2 separate regions of the Homo sapiens genome follow, and region 2 is linked to region 1. The links are contacts of gene promoters, found by promoter capture Hi-C in human tissues and cell types (Jung and others, 2019). All regions are on one chromosome and are shown on one strand. The core of a region is centred on a gene start or on the middle of the fragment in contact, and the rest is flanking DNA. Distances in the headings are between cores, read along the strand shown.

The links. The method cuts DNA at HindIII sites, captures the fragments that hold promoters and counts their contacts. A contact is called where the count stands out against the background at its distance.
Region 2: a fragment that was not itself captured here is called in contact with the fragment with the promoter of CSRNP3 in region 1 in 2 of the 25 tissues and cell types used here (hippocampus and mesenchymal stem cells).

The regions. Positions count from the first base shown.
Region 1 is chr2:165,465,042-165,472,712 of GRCh38, forward strand. It overlaps CSRNP3 (cysteine and serine rich nuclear protein 3), which reads left to right and starts at 4,657. Exons shown (of 7, transcript NM_001172173.2): 1 at 4,657-4,699. The HindIII fragment of the contact is 6,911 bases long and covers 1-6,224 here.
Region 2 is chr2:165,534,053-165,541,723 of GRCh38, forward strand. All of the region lies in intron 3 of CSRNP3 (cysteine and serine rich nuclear protein 3), which reads left to right. Among named protein-coding and RNA genes, the nearest start is that of CSRNP3, 68 kb to the left of the region's middle. The HindIII fragment of the contact is 3,259 bases long and covers 3,144-6,402 here.

The sequences.
Region 1 (7,671 bases), core at 3,407-5,906:
ATTTAGGAATCAGTTAATGACTTCCTCAAAGAAGACTGGAATAAAAAATGATTTTTTTCTATTTTGTTTATATCCCTTGATATGTTATGAGACTGGAGATATTAAATAGTTCCACTGATCCTTCAGCTTATTTTTTTAGCAAATTTGAAGCTCTTAACTTTTATTACTTTGGTCTCTTACAAGAGTGTTCTCGATTCTGAGCTACATAATTTTTGATTCATCTGCACTACCACTCCTTAAGATCTTTTCAATTCCAATCACTTGACAAATTTCTGACTTTCAAAAATATAGGTTTTATTAAGATAGTCTCTTTGGACAGTTAGGTATGAAAAATTTTTATTTAATCATTTGATCTGTGCCAAGCCTCATCTATTTCCTTAGTGGTCATTATATTATCCCAAAACCTTACCTCTACAGCTCAATGGAAGAAACTTCACTTAATTAATACATAACATATTGAAATCCCTTCCTATTACAACCTGCTCTAATTTTGGACTTTCTTAAAAGTTGTCCATTATGTTACTCTTTAGGCTTATTTCTATTTTCAGCTTTTAAAGAATATTTTATTATTTAATTTAGGGTATTTTAACCTTTAGAAATTTTGTAATATTTCTCTTGTTATGAAAGATTTTTAAAGTCACTCAGACACACTCTCAGACGGTCTATTACCTTTGCTTCAGGCAAACAAGGCAACATGCAGCTGAGCTCCCGTGGCCATCAAAGGCCTGACTGTCACTGCTCCTTAGGAAAGCATCTCCCTCTATCAATATCAGCCTGTGATATTCCCATCATGTCACGCCTGTCTGATGAGTGGTGTAAGGTAGAGACCTGCAGCAGCAAGCAAGGCTCACTTTCTGCCTCTGCTCCTATTCTGTTTCTCTGAATTGAAAAGATGGTCTGGTGATGAGTGTGTTTGCTAGAAGACCCTTGTTCTGGGTGTATATAAAGCACTGTACTTGTCTCCATTTCTTTATCTTCCATCTGTTTTTCCAACCACCGCAGTCATCCTGCCCTACCCCAACCACTCCACTGAAACTGTTCACTGTCAGTTCACCAAGAACCAAATTGCAAATTTCATAGGTAACAACAATGTTTCTAAAATTTGAGTGTGCTTGTGGATCTTGTTACAATGCAGATTGTGATTCAGTTTACTGGGGTGGGGCCTGAGATTCTGCATTAGAACCAGCTCCCATGAGATGTCTAAGCTGGAATCAGTGGACTGCACTTTGAATAGCAAGGCATTAGCCCTCACCATAATCGTTCACCTTCCTGAAATTCTCTACTCCTTTGGGTTTTGCTACACCATTCTCTCCTGGCTTCCCTCCTCGCTAACTGTTCCTCCTAAGCATCTTTTCTTCATTCTGCTTTCTGCTTGTTCTTTAAAGGTAAGTAAATTCCCTGAGTTTCATTCTCAACTTATTTCTCCTCTTCCTAGAGTGATGATTCTCAAACTTTAGTGTACAAAGGAAGTCAGCTGAAAAATGTTATCAAAATGGAGCTCCCTAAGCTTCATTCCAAAGGTTCTGATTCAGTAGGTATGGGGTGGAGTCTCTTAGTCAGCATTTTTAATTCTGCTAAAGATGTTTTTCTTTTTTAAAAAATAAATGTATATAAATATGGCATACGTAACCTCATATTGTCTTAATTAAACACGATGTATGTCATAACCTCATATTATCTTAAACACAATATTTATATATATTTAATTAGTAAAAGTTTGCTATAGTGAAGCAAACTAACATATCCATCATTTCATATAGCTATACTTTTTTGTTGTTTTTGTGGTAAGAGTAGCTAACATCTACTTATTTTACATGAAACCCATAGTACAATTTCATTACCTGTAGTCCTCATGTTGTACATTAGATCTCTAGACTTGTTCATCATATATATATATATATACACACATATACACACACACATACATATATATATATATATATATGCTTCTTTGTATCCTCTGACCTACATCTTCCCATACCCCCAGTCCCTGCCTCTGGTAATCACTGTTTTGTTCTCTATCTCTATATATTTGATTTTTTTTTTTACAAAGATTCTGCATATAAGTGAGACCAGGCAATATTTCTGTGTCTGGATTATAGCACATAGCATAATGTCCTCCAGGCTCATCTACATAGTGGCAAAAAGCAAGATCTATTTTTTAGGACTGAATAATATTCCATTGTGTATTTGTACCACATTTTTATCCCCTTGTCCATCAATGAATGCTTAAGTTGTTTCCATATGTTGGCTATTGTGAATAATGCTGCAATGAACATGGTAATACAGATATCTTTACAAAGTTGTGATTCCACTTCTGAGTATATGCCCAGAAGAGAGATTGCTAGATCATATGGTAGTTCTATTTTTAATTTTTTTACAATCATCCATACTGTTTTTCATAATGCTGTAGCAGTTGACATTCCCACCAACAGTGTACAAGAGTACTCTTTTCTCTACACTCTCTCCAACATTTATCTGCAGACATTTTGATAACAGCCGTCCTAATAAATATGAGGTGGTATTTCTTAGTAATTTTGATTTACATTGCCCTGAGGATTGGTGATGCTGAGCATATTTTCATAAACCTGTTGTCCATTTTTATGTCTTCTTTGGAGAAATGTCTATTTGGGCCTTTTGTCCATTTTGTATTGGGTTTGTTTTTCCACTGTTAAGTTTTATGAGTTCTTTATAAAATTTTTATATTAAACCCTTAGGGTGCTCATTTATTTTCATTACTTTAACCGAACCCTAGATGCTGGGGGTTCCAAATTGAACCTACATCCCAGCCTTATTTATGAGTTTAACTGACTATTTAATATTTTAATCTGGATATCCAAAAAGTTCAAAACGTTCAAATTAATTTTGTTATTTTGTTCCCAAATCTCTAAATCTCTCTTTTTTTTTTTTTTCTGAGACAATGGCATCATCATCTAAACAGAAGAAATCTGGTTAGAATTTGTGCCCTGCAAATACTTGCCTACAAGTCTCTGTCTACAATCACACTTGACATATAAATCACCTGGGAGAGCTTGCTAAAAATGCTGAGTCAGAAACTCCTCAAATGCTTATTCATTAAATCTGGAGGAGGCCCATGAACCTGCATTTTTAATGAATCTTCCCCTAGTGGTTCTGATGAAGATGGCCCCGAACAACTATTTCTAAAAATGCTGTCTGTCCTAGGGATTCCTCCAGTTATTCCTAGCAATAGGACCACAAAGGCTTTGAAAGCATTTTTCACAACAGAGGACTTGGCGGTGGGAATAAGCGATAGTTTAGTCTTCCCCATAATCTTTAGCAGAGCCTCCCAAAGCTACTCTAAATAACAGTGCAAACTAAGCAAAATCAGTGCACTCCTATCTAAAGTTAGTATCAGTTTAAGTCACCAGCCATTCCTTTCCTAACAATATTGACACCCCAAGCCCTTCCTGTACAGATATTCCTGGACTAATGATTTGCCACCATGCCAGTAACTCTTAAAGAATGCTTGCTTGCCCTTCCCTCTAATTTTACTCCCTTTGGCCTTATTCCCATGAGGACACATTACTGATTTAAGAAATTGAAGAGCAAGGCTTATAAATACCTCAAGTAGCCAGTACATACCTCTATAGTGGTGATATCTACTGTATATGTCTTTCTAAGGAAATTTTTCAGACCACCTCCACTAGAGGAAGCTCAATTGAGAGAATTTTTATCATAAAGATCCCTGGTTTGTATTACAGTATTTTAAAAATTAAACTGTTTGAAACTGGATGAATTTGCTTTATTGCCTTAAAAAATCCTAATTTGGTGTTTTCTTTAACTGTCCTTTAATGCATGTTATGCCTCTAGGTTCAGAAGTGAAATGATTTTTGTTTAAGTTTATTAGAATAAAATTGGAGTTCAGCTGGTCACTTTGAGGCATGGCAACCAAGTGACTGATCTCTTTTTAATCTTTAATAAGTTCCATTATTCACAAATTGATGGCATTTAAGGAATCTGAAGTAATGCAAACCACATAACTGTGAAATATTTGAATATTCTAATGCTCAGAATGAAATATTTTTCATACTGATTAGGCCTCGAAACTGCGTTTGAATGAAAACATTGTCAAACAGAGGTTGTAGTGCAAATAATATAAAACATAAGTATAAAGGGTGTTGATTCATTTTAATTCTATCTCTTTGCAAACTGAATATGCAAAATGTCATCTTGATGTTCAGTCTCCCTCCTCTGTCTGCATATCAAAATGTATAATGAGGAGGTACACTTTTTTCACTGAGAAAAATCAGTGGGAACTAAAAAACAGGCAATTTACCTAGGTTTTACTATGAGCATTTTGCTTTGATTTCAGGTAGGTGAGGCATTGATTAACTTTATTTTTCTAAATCCAAAGCAAGACTTTTTACTTCAGCTGAGGTCATCTGCAGACATTTTCCATAGTTGGGAGCTATTTTTTGAAATATCTTGCATCTCTGCTTTTCTCTCCATATTTCTTTTCTCCACTCGCTTCCTCTCTCCCAGCTGCAGGGATTCGTCCTCTAAAAGAGTGGAGGTGGGAGGGAACAAGAAATGGAAGCAAAGCAGGGAGCATGAGCTAGAGAATGCCAGGATCTGGCTTTTGTTATTGGTTGGCTGCCGCCTGATGGATAGACGAGGGAGGAGTGTACTCTCTTCAGTGTGTTCTGACGGAGCCGAAGTACAGAAACCATATTTACAGGTAAGAGCGAAAAATAAAAAAAAAGAAAAGAGAATTCTTTTTTTCTTTAAAAGAGAATGCTTCTTAATTTTTACGGAAACAATTTTATAGTAGGAAAATTATTCTGAGGACATTTTCTGAAAGTGTGTCCCTTTTATTACTTGAGGAAGCTTTGCAATGAGCTTGCTGTTCTTTCTCTCTGCAAAATCCTTAGCTGATTAAAAACAAAACAAAACAATCACCAGAGGCATGTCTTATCCTAAATAACTTTCTATGCAAGTGTCACTGAAGCAAAATTAATAGATAAAATGAATCATCATGTGTCTCTTCAAAAATGTTTAATTCAAGCTTGTTACTAGGAATCGCAGGAAGGATGAGAAAACCTCGGTAAATTCCACAGGTCCTGAGAAAATGGAGCCTTCTGTGAATATACAATATAAAATTTCATGTGATGGCTTTTAATATTGACAATACAGTAAAAGGCTTAGGAAAACTATTTTTGCAGGTTGTAGACTCTTTTAGCATTAATTTAGAATGAATGATTTGTGTGCATTTAAGCCCTGTTATTTAACTTACTCCTCTTGATAAATCTCATGTTGTTCAATATTTGCATTATTTTATTCAGCAAACTTTAAGCTTATGTGATAATTAAACAATGGTTTGTCTCTACTTGTTAACTTACATGGAGCCATTTTTATTTTAAAGCACAGAAACCTAATTTTGAAAGATTAAACATTGCTGTAAAAAATAGCATCTTAACAGTCATGTTTCATGGGTAGTTTAATTTATCAGTCAAACACATCTAGATAAGAATTCCATCAGAGCATTTATATTGTTGATAATATCTCTAGGCAATTTTTTTTTAGCAACTTTACTAGGTGCTTGTATCTCCTAATATGGTCCTTTATATTGCCTTAGGGAAAAAAGGGACAAGTTCTAAGTATGTAGAATAAATAACACACTTGCAGTAAAAACATACAAAAAAACTGAACTCCCAGTCACTTAATTCTTTACTTTAATTCATAAATACAGGTCATTTAACGGTGGTAGAACCTCATTAAAATTGAACTTTCAAGAATTATGACTGACTTCAGTACACTGGCCATCGATTAATACCTGTTGATTATAATAATAAAATAAAAGTCTTTCAATGAGGTAAATAATTTGTTCCTACATATTTTAATACCTTTTTGAATGAATCAAAACTAATAGGAATGACTATATAATTTCTAAATATTTTTTGCTATTGTTTTTCTTTTTGTTTATTGTTTTTCAAATTTTTTTATTTATTGTACTTTTTTTGTTTGAGAGATTTTGTCTTTGAATAAACAGACACAAATATAATAGTTCTTGGAAAATTAAAATGAGTGAGAAAATTGCTGAATATTAGTATGGATTATCTAAATGAATTGAGAATTACCTTAAATTTCCTAAAAGTACTAAATATAGTTAATAACATGTTTATATGGTTAAGTGTCATAATGAACCAAGTAAATATTCTGGTATGGTTGATTTTGAACTGTTTCTGGATTTCAAAAATTATTACATAATACTGAAATTTTGGCATGTTTCTAATTATTGATGGATCTTTCCGATTTTGTTTTTTTAAGCAAAACAATGGTTGAAATTAATCCACCCCTCACCCCAAGATTGAAATTCAAGGTGATATATAAGACCAGATATTCATCTCCTAAAATGTATTAGAGGAAATAAATCAATGCAGCTATATTTTTTAGAAATTATAAATTCTGAGTAAAGCTACCTCCAGGAATGAAGGGGAATTGATGAAAATTAGAGAGCAGAGTTCCACATGGTTTTAAATTATTCTGTTTCCTTGGAAACCAGCTGCTGCAGATGCATTTTGCTTTCTTTGGCTAAAAATATCACCCTTTTAATAATCACTAAGGGAGAGGACTGAATAAAACCAGAGTATATTGTTGCTGCTTTTTATAATTTCCTTAATGGTTCACATATTTTGGATGAAAAGTAGATAAACCCTTTCTCAATCAGCATTTCCTATCAGCCACTGGCAGACGTCTGCAAGTCTTATAAAAATGAGACAACTGGGGTAGCTTTTACTGCAGAGTCCACAGGAAGAGATAGAGAGAGAGAGAGAATGTGTGCTGGAGTGGAGACAAGAGAGAAAAAAAAAGCATGAAAGAAAACAGTTAAGAGGTTACTGTCCAAGTGAAGGATGAAACAAGGCAAATGAAAACCATGTAAGGCTTTCAGTGAGAAATGGGAAGGCATCACCATTTTTTTTTCCTTTGGTACAAACATTTTTAAGATTTAAATGTAGGTTTTTAATGGAGCTCACTATATACAGCTTTGTCCCCTTTTCACAACACTCTTTCCTTTTTCTCTTTATGTTTGCAGTGGTTTGCAATATAATGAATAATACAATAAATTAAGAAGTATTTTTTAATGTATCAATCACTTTAATCATAAAGAGAGAAGCTTGGTATATGTCCAGGCTATGGATAGTGAGGAGCATTCAATACACATTTTGACATTAGAATAAGAATTTTTTAAACTTAACGTCCAAACCATGTTTCATTAATGCAATTATTTCCTTACCTTTGTAATCTATTTAATATGTATAAAAAATTACACATTCCAACAACCTAAAAGCTATTTGTGTTAATGTTAAGGTAATTAATTTAAAATTTAATATAAATCACTGTAAATGCACATATATCCTTTTTGCTTTATTTGAAACATTTTTGCTTTCTTTGAAAATAAACATTACTTTTATGTAGCTTTTCTCTATACAAAAAAAAATCACAATTATCATCATATTCTACCCTAGGCAATTCCTTAATTTAAAACATTTTTATTATAAAATTACATGCTTCAAAGGCAGCACTGTCATCCCATACACCATTTTTTTCAAATCTCTCAGCTATTTGTTAAGAGGAAAAATCATCATAAAGCTGTTAACAGCTTTCCTATTATTTTTGTTATAATTCAGATGAGATTCCTAACTCTTATTT
Region 2 (7,671 bases), core at 3,523-6,022, 69 kb after region 1:
ATAAGGTAAAAATAAGATGTATCCAGTGAAATTTATCATCTCATCAAAGGTTGTATTGCTTTCTCAAGTAAAGGAAATTCTGTGCTTTATAAAATCAAAACTAGATGTATTCCATTAAGACAAGGGCTGAAAACTGGCAACCTGAGAACTGAAATATGTTTGTTTTGGCCCTCATAATATTTACTAAAATTAAATTTGCTGAATTTCTACTACTTCCCATTTTTTACTCTGTGCTGATGCACATTTTTTGGTATCTATCTGTTTCTGAAGTCATCTGAGTTTGTGACGTCTGCTTTAGAAAGTTGCTATTGAATGAGTTTAAAAAAACTGAAAAGTGTGTAGGACAGATTCTTTTATATATTACTGGTGAACATGTAAATTCTTTACAATACTTTTGGAATATGTTTAGAAATATTTGTTAAAACACTAATTCCTTTGAATCTTCCATATGTCTGCAGCCATTCTACAGAAGGACTCATACAGGTGCATAGAGAATGTTCACTGACACATTGGTTGTGAGTAAAAAATTGAAAAAACTTCTGAATATCTATCAATAAGGTGTTGATTTAATAAACTATCATAAATTCTTATAAAGAAATATTATATAGCTCTTTAATAAAAAAATAAAGTGGTTCTAATATACACTGACATGGAAAAACATCAAGTAAATATTAAGTGAAAAAAGAAAGTGGTGAAATATTTTCAAGTTTCTTTAAAAAACAATCCCATAATATTAAAATAATAATATCTTAGTACATTAATAATATTTATCAAACTGATAATAGAAGTTGTCCTTGATTGGATGGGATTATAGTGGGTTTCTTATATTCTAAACCTATATTTCTGTAACATTTAAATTATTAAAGCAAGTATATATAACACATAATAAAAAGTGTAAATGCAGATGTTTAAGTCACCAAAACTTTCTATAAAAAATTATCAGATGAGAAACCACTTTTCTATATTATACTTGAGACTTGGCTTGGCTATTGATACTGTAAGAATAATGGTATGTAATATAGTCCAAATTTAAATACTTGTTAGTTATGTTTACCAGCTTTTTGATGTTTGTTTTCTTATTTAAATAAAATGCATTTTTAGAGATATAGGTAAAATTGCTAAATATGACTCATCCTTAGGAGGAAGAAAAACACTTAAATATTTAGATACATATTTTTTGTAAACATAAGAAGAGAAATATTTGGAGCTTCATGAAAAGTAGTATGCTGGGGACTAGGTATATTCTAAATACTTTAGCTTGTTCTTTTTTTTTTTTTCTTTGACCTACATTTTAAAACTCTGTAATAACCTGTTCTGGGAGGAAAAAAAGAACATATTCCTTCTGCTGCTAGGAAGAAAACCTTGTCATCTCAGCCTTAATCACAAACTAGGCAGTGGGTTACAAATAAGCTTGGCAAAATTTAGATGCCCTTTCCTTGTAGACCATTTAGTCTACAAATGGACAGATGATATACAAGATGGCCTTCCGTCATCAAGGATAGAATCAAGAATGAGGCAAGCTTACTTGCAGGGAAAGGAATTTGTGTGCTGGCCTTGGCAAATTTTATGTCTGACGTGATCACAATGACAGGTTTATTGCTATGATGAGAGAGAATAAAAATCTTGCTGGCCTAGAGAGGAACTTGAAAATGAAGAGGGGAACACAGTCTGGAAAATGAGATCATGGCTTGGACTACTGTCATCATTATCAATAGCAAACATATTGAGAACCTGCTAGATGAAAGAAACTAAATTAAGTATGGTGAGGCTGATGTTATAAAATCCACATGGGAAGCTGACAGTATGATATATAGTTACACTGTTGATTTAATGCCATATTTAGTCATTCTAGAAACACCAGAATTATTAGGATTTGAAAATTTCTGTTTCCCACGAAACAATGACTTCTCTTCTCAGAAAAATGTACACAAAAGTTTGCAAGTAAAATCAGAGGTCATTCATCCATAGTTCCCTGGTTCTACTTTAAAATAATGTTCTTAACACTAGAGATATGAAGGACAGTCTGGTTTTGAACTCCAAGCTATATGCACATTTGTGTGCCAATAATATACTTCCAAAGCCATTGTAACTAAATCTCAACCAAATATTGTCAACACAACTGTTCTAAGCTTTTTTCAGTTTAAATATAATAGCGTCTTATGTATTCTATTTGTTATTAGTTCAGTACTGGCAGCCTCAGAGTTTGAAAATGCAGATTCATCTGACCTCAGATTACTCTTGTTAACCTAGTTATAAATATTAACCATGCTTAAACAAGTTTCTTCCAAGTGCATCTGATTATGGTTTTTATTTCTTTCCTAAGAGTTGATCTGACTAAGGTTTCCACAATGTTTCCATAAATTTCAGCTGAATATGGCTTTCACATGATTCTGCCTGTCAAAAAACATGCTAGTACTCAATGACAACATAAAAACCACACCTTACTATTTAAAGTATTGGTTTTGTCAGGTGACAAGTAAATAACGATGGTCTCTAAGATTTTTATATTCTTCTGGGTGTTTATTGACCTCACCTTTATAAAATTACTTTTAGGATTTCTAGAGCGTGTAATGTTAAGCATGTGTCAAGTTCTTCAACTCAATGCAGTGAATAGAAAATGTATGTAAGATTTTTTTGAATTCTGACTCTGCCATGGAGAGATACTTCTGGCAGAATCTGCTCATTCTTCCAAAAGTAATATTTAATCACAACCCACTATATGTAGTTCTTTCATGTGTGCCAGTTATTGAATACATTAAATGTTATATTGCAGGATAACAAGATTTTAAATTGTGTTTTCAATTAAATAGATGAATAAAATAATATGGATTAACATTAATTAATATATATTAAGATCTGCCATAAGACCACATGCTGCACTGGCTATAGTCATTGCTTCCGTATGTATCCTGTGTATGGTATTCTCCAAAGGGAAATTGAAACCAGGATACATAAAACAAACACTCAAACAGGAAACTCTGCCTTCCCTTTCCTCCCTTTATCTCTCCAAAAGAACCATCCACAGCAGTCCAGATCTCTTATTTTTTGCATCATTCTATTGTCTCTGCTGCCCAGGACAGAAGATAAGTCACCTTCTTTAAATGTCAGGAGCGAGGGATGGTGGCTAACAAACCCAACTGTTACTGACACATTCAACTTCATGCTTTTTTTTCCTGTTTATGGCACAGGGACAAAGGAAGGGTGAAAGAAGCTACTCACTGAATGCCAGTGGGTTTATGGATCCTGACCTGGTGAATACTGAGCTTTACAGATTTGTTGGTAAAGACATTCAGAGAGTGAACCACAGGGGACCTAAAAGCCCTTAACGCCAGGAACCTCACCTTGAATTTTCCAGATGAAAATATCCCTGCATCCTAGATATATAATGAAGGCTATTTATCTGATCTATCAAATCAATGTCATATTATAAGTAGCTCAAAGAAAAGGTTTTATTATCATCAATTAATGTGTCAGTTTTATAAGTGTAAATGGAAAAATTATTATTACCTTTACATTGATTTGTTAAGAATTATTAGCAATTATTCAGAGTGTAACACCTCCTGTCAGAGAGCTCACAATTTTTTTAAAAATTTCATTTATAGTACATCAAAGAAATATCATTATATTGTTCACTCCAAACTTTCTTTTCTGTAACTGTGTCCTTTTCAAGTTATCATACTTCTTTTCTCTTGCTTTTCCCTTTCTCTACACTCCCATTTCTATTTTCTTCTCTTTGTATTGATCTTAGAGTTTCTTTTCCTTACCTTAATTAAATTTATGACCTAGATTTACCACTTGCCTTCCATTTTCTTTTTGATTTGTTCAATTCAGAAACATTTATTGTCTACCATGTGCACAGGCACTGAGAATCTTAAATGAAGAAGAGGTAGCCCCTGTTTGATGAAACTACTGAGCTTTTTTTTTCCCTTCAGCTCCTGAGGACAGATGAGAAAAGTAAAACTAGAGTGTTTGTGGATAAAGAAAGAAAACAGAGTTGGCCTGTATCTTTAGCATTATTAGCAAGGACCCACTGCTCCAGCAGTACCTTCAGCAGTTCACTGGTGGCTACAATTCCTTAAAGAGGCAAGATTATTCATCCCACAACACAGGAATATCTGCATATAAAAATACCCCTGAGAGAAATCCAGTTAATTAAGCTTTTCTTATGTGCAATTCCCATGACACTTTGTATAATTCCTTTTATTATTATTAATTATTATTACTACTACATACCACCCTGTCTCTAATTGTGCTATTTTCCCCAAAACCAGTAGGAAAGTGGGACAGGCCATTTTGAGGCTGTGGGATTCTAATTTTCAGTGATACCTTCGTGATTCTCACTAGCTTTCTCCTTCTTTGAAGATTATATCTGCTGCCTCTCCTTTCCCGTATACTTCATGAACTAGCTAGGTGCGTATTCTATCCCATTTACCCAGTGTCCCCACTTCCATCCAGTCTCTCACAACTCATGGCGAAGAAAGGACATATCTCTTTCTTATTTCCATATGGACTGAAAGAGCCATTGTGTGGAATTGCTTTTGAAATGAATTATTGACATTTTCAATGGCATCTTCCCTAGTATCTTGCCTTGACATTTCTCCCATTTTTTTCATAGTCATCTCCAGTAATAGAAATAGATATTCTATTCCCTTACTTTCTGTTGAAGTGCCTCCTCCCCCTCTTAATTAAATAATGAAATTATTTATCTTTGCATTGAGTCTTGACATATTTTCTGGCATGTAGCAATACACTTGTGAACACTGTCTTAGAGATACACTTCTCACTTATGAAGCATCTTGCATTTTGCCATTCCTAGGTACCTGTTTTGCCAATTTTCAAGTAGTAAAAACTATGTTTAACAATTCTATCACCACAAATACAGAGAGAGTTTTCTATTTTCCACATTTGGAAAAGAAATACTCCTAACGATATCTCATGCTACAGGAAGCATGAGTTATTCTGGAATAGTGGATTGAAAAAGTACGATGTTATTTAAGCAACCAAGACAGGGTCAAAATTTTCATTAAGTCTTATCGTTTTCTTTAAAATTTATGCAACCCTTTGCATTCAACCTGATGGTATATTTATGTTTGTTGTAATACAAGATAATATTTTGATTACTTAAAGCATTTTCTCTAAGTATTTTTAGTAAAACTGACAGATCAATATGCACTGTTTTTACTCTGTGGCTTCATGTAAGTCCAATATGCCTCGTCTGATAGGGAAGCAGGAATAGACAAGAATTTGCTTTTTCTTTCACTCTGCCCAGCTAGTACACTGAATTTTCATGGCTAACCTACTTGATTTTCTTCCCAGTCATATACACACCTACTTTTCCCCTCACGCCAGAATGAGCTGACTTTTTACCTGACATATAAAAGCTTCCTTTATTGTTTTCCAATATTTGATTATTTTCCCCTAATGGCTATGTATTTTAAACATTTTTGCATAGCTCCTCTAGATGTTTTTGATTAACAACTTAAAGAGAACAAAGGCTTTAGTCTGTTCCATAATTTACAGTGTGTCTTGAACAGCTGATGTATAAAAAGATGCTTAATAAATGCATTTTGATGATGACTTTTTAATTCATTTTCCACTCCTCTCTTTCTGCGACCTTTTTATTTAAATCAACGTGAATTTATATTTGCACTCCAAGTGGCTGCCTGCTAGAGATACAGTTAACAATAAGCAAAAAGTCAGAAGTAAGAATAACAGTAATAATCGCTGGTATAAAAGTGGTGTAAATTTTCAGAATTAATTTAATTCTGTGCCTGAATTATTTTAATTTTCATGTAAGACTGATTTTTGCTAAGGGTGTTTGTTAGCAGCTATGCTGGAGCAAATTCTAAGAAACTAGAGGTCCTGGAAATCTGAATAAATCTACAGGTGAAGACTACTCCTTGAACTTGGGAAAACATCAGAATTGCTGTTAATGTACAAATAAACCCAAAGGATAAAATGCCAGTAGTGATTGACCTGTAGTCCATCCCCAATAAAATGACATGAAGTGACAAGACTCTCCAGCCCAAACCTCTAACCTATTACTATTCCTGGATAGCAGAGTGCATGTCTCACTGAGGCAAGGTGTTGGCAAGCAACCAGTTCTCCCTCTCTTTTGCTCTAAAATGCATTGAATAGGCTGTTGAACTTGTTTATATTATTTGCTCCAGTGGCTTGCCTTGGCAAATTACTCCCTGTCTTTATTGTTAAATTCAGTGTACTGGTAGTGTTTTAATTTTTGTTTGCAGCCCAGTGTTTGACATTTCCACTAGTGTAAACAATATTGGGTAAGTTGATATTCTCTCTGAGACAGAAGCTTATAAAGTTTCTCTTTTCCTCTATTTGGTAGTCTTTTACCCAGTAACTTGCAAGTCTTTATTTTTACCTTTAAAATTATCTTAATTCTATGAGAAACATAATTAATACCTGCGATCTTGTCTGTGCTCTACTGCTGGGCAAGGCAGTCTCCTCCTTATCTCCTTCGAAAGCTTAACTGTGAAGTCAGCTTCTCTTCACTATTCTCTGCACACTAAGCCCTGGAGACTCATGCAGACATTCCTTGTGTTCCACAACACACCACATTGATCTTTCCCATTTTATGGCACCAGTTCTTTTTTTTCCCCAGGAATCCCTGCTGGCTTGTCCCTGTAAGATTCTGGTTACATTCTGAATTACCAGTTTAGTCTAAATTTCTAAAGCCTGAACTCTGGGTTCTAGTGACCTAGAGGGGTAATTCACCTGCCTGGATGGCCCTGTCTGGAAGGGACCATCCATCTTCTGTACCTGGTAGTTTGGTAGTCCTTCTCTATTTATCTTTAATATAGTTTCTGGGTAATTTGTGTAATTTATGCATCTAGAAATAACTTCCCAGGAACATTTTGTATATATTTGTAAAAATCAAATATTTTTACATGGCGGGGTTTTCTCTGAAGAGTATGGCCTTCCAAAGAAAATTTTACATTATAACGTCTTGTATTGCCCCAACTGCTTGAGCTTAGAGTCAATATTTTATATACCACCAAACAATCAACCTATTTTATTTGAGTATTTACCTGAAGGGTCAGTTACTGTTTGTAGTTCGAATTCTAGCTCAATCCCCATCTAGAGTTTCTGCCCTTCTCTCTCTACCTGAATAGCTGCTATGTAATCATATCCTCTACACCAAATGCATTTTTTTTTTTTAGACAGTGAGGAAGGACTTCCAGGTTCTTTTTTAATTGGATAATTCACATATTGGATATTATACAAGTTCATAAAGGAAAGACCCTTTTGTTTTATTCTTTACTCGATCACTTTTCATATGGCTCCTAGAATTCTGTCCCTCAGTGGCTCCTGAGCACTACAGAGGTCGTCCCATAGGACACAGATTGTCCTAAGGCCTCTCTCCTCTGTCTTCAGCTACTTCAAAATGACTTGAAGCTGGAGGTCTCTCTACCACATAATGGGTGGTGCCTGCCTTCAAAGTTTTCTGCCCATTTATAGCACAGGTTCTTCTCTCTCCACTTTAGAGCCCTGAGGGACAGCCAACCCAGGTGACACACATCGTGGGATACAAAGGTGAATTAGATAATCTCTGCCTATAGAGAACACAAATCTAAATGCAATTATACAATATCTCCTAAACTCTCATGTGACCACTGTAGACCTCACACCCATGATCAGCTCATTCCA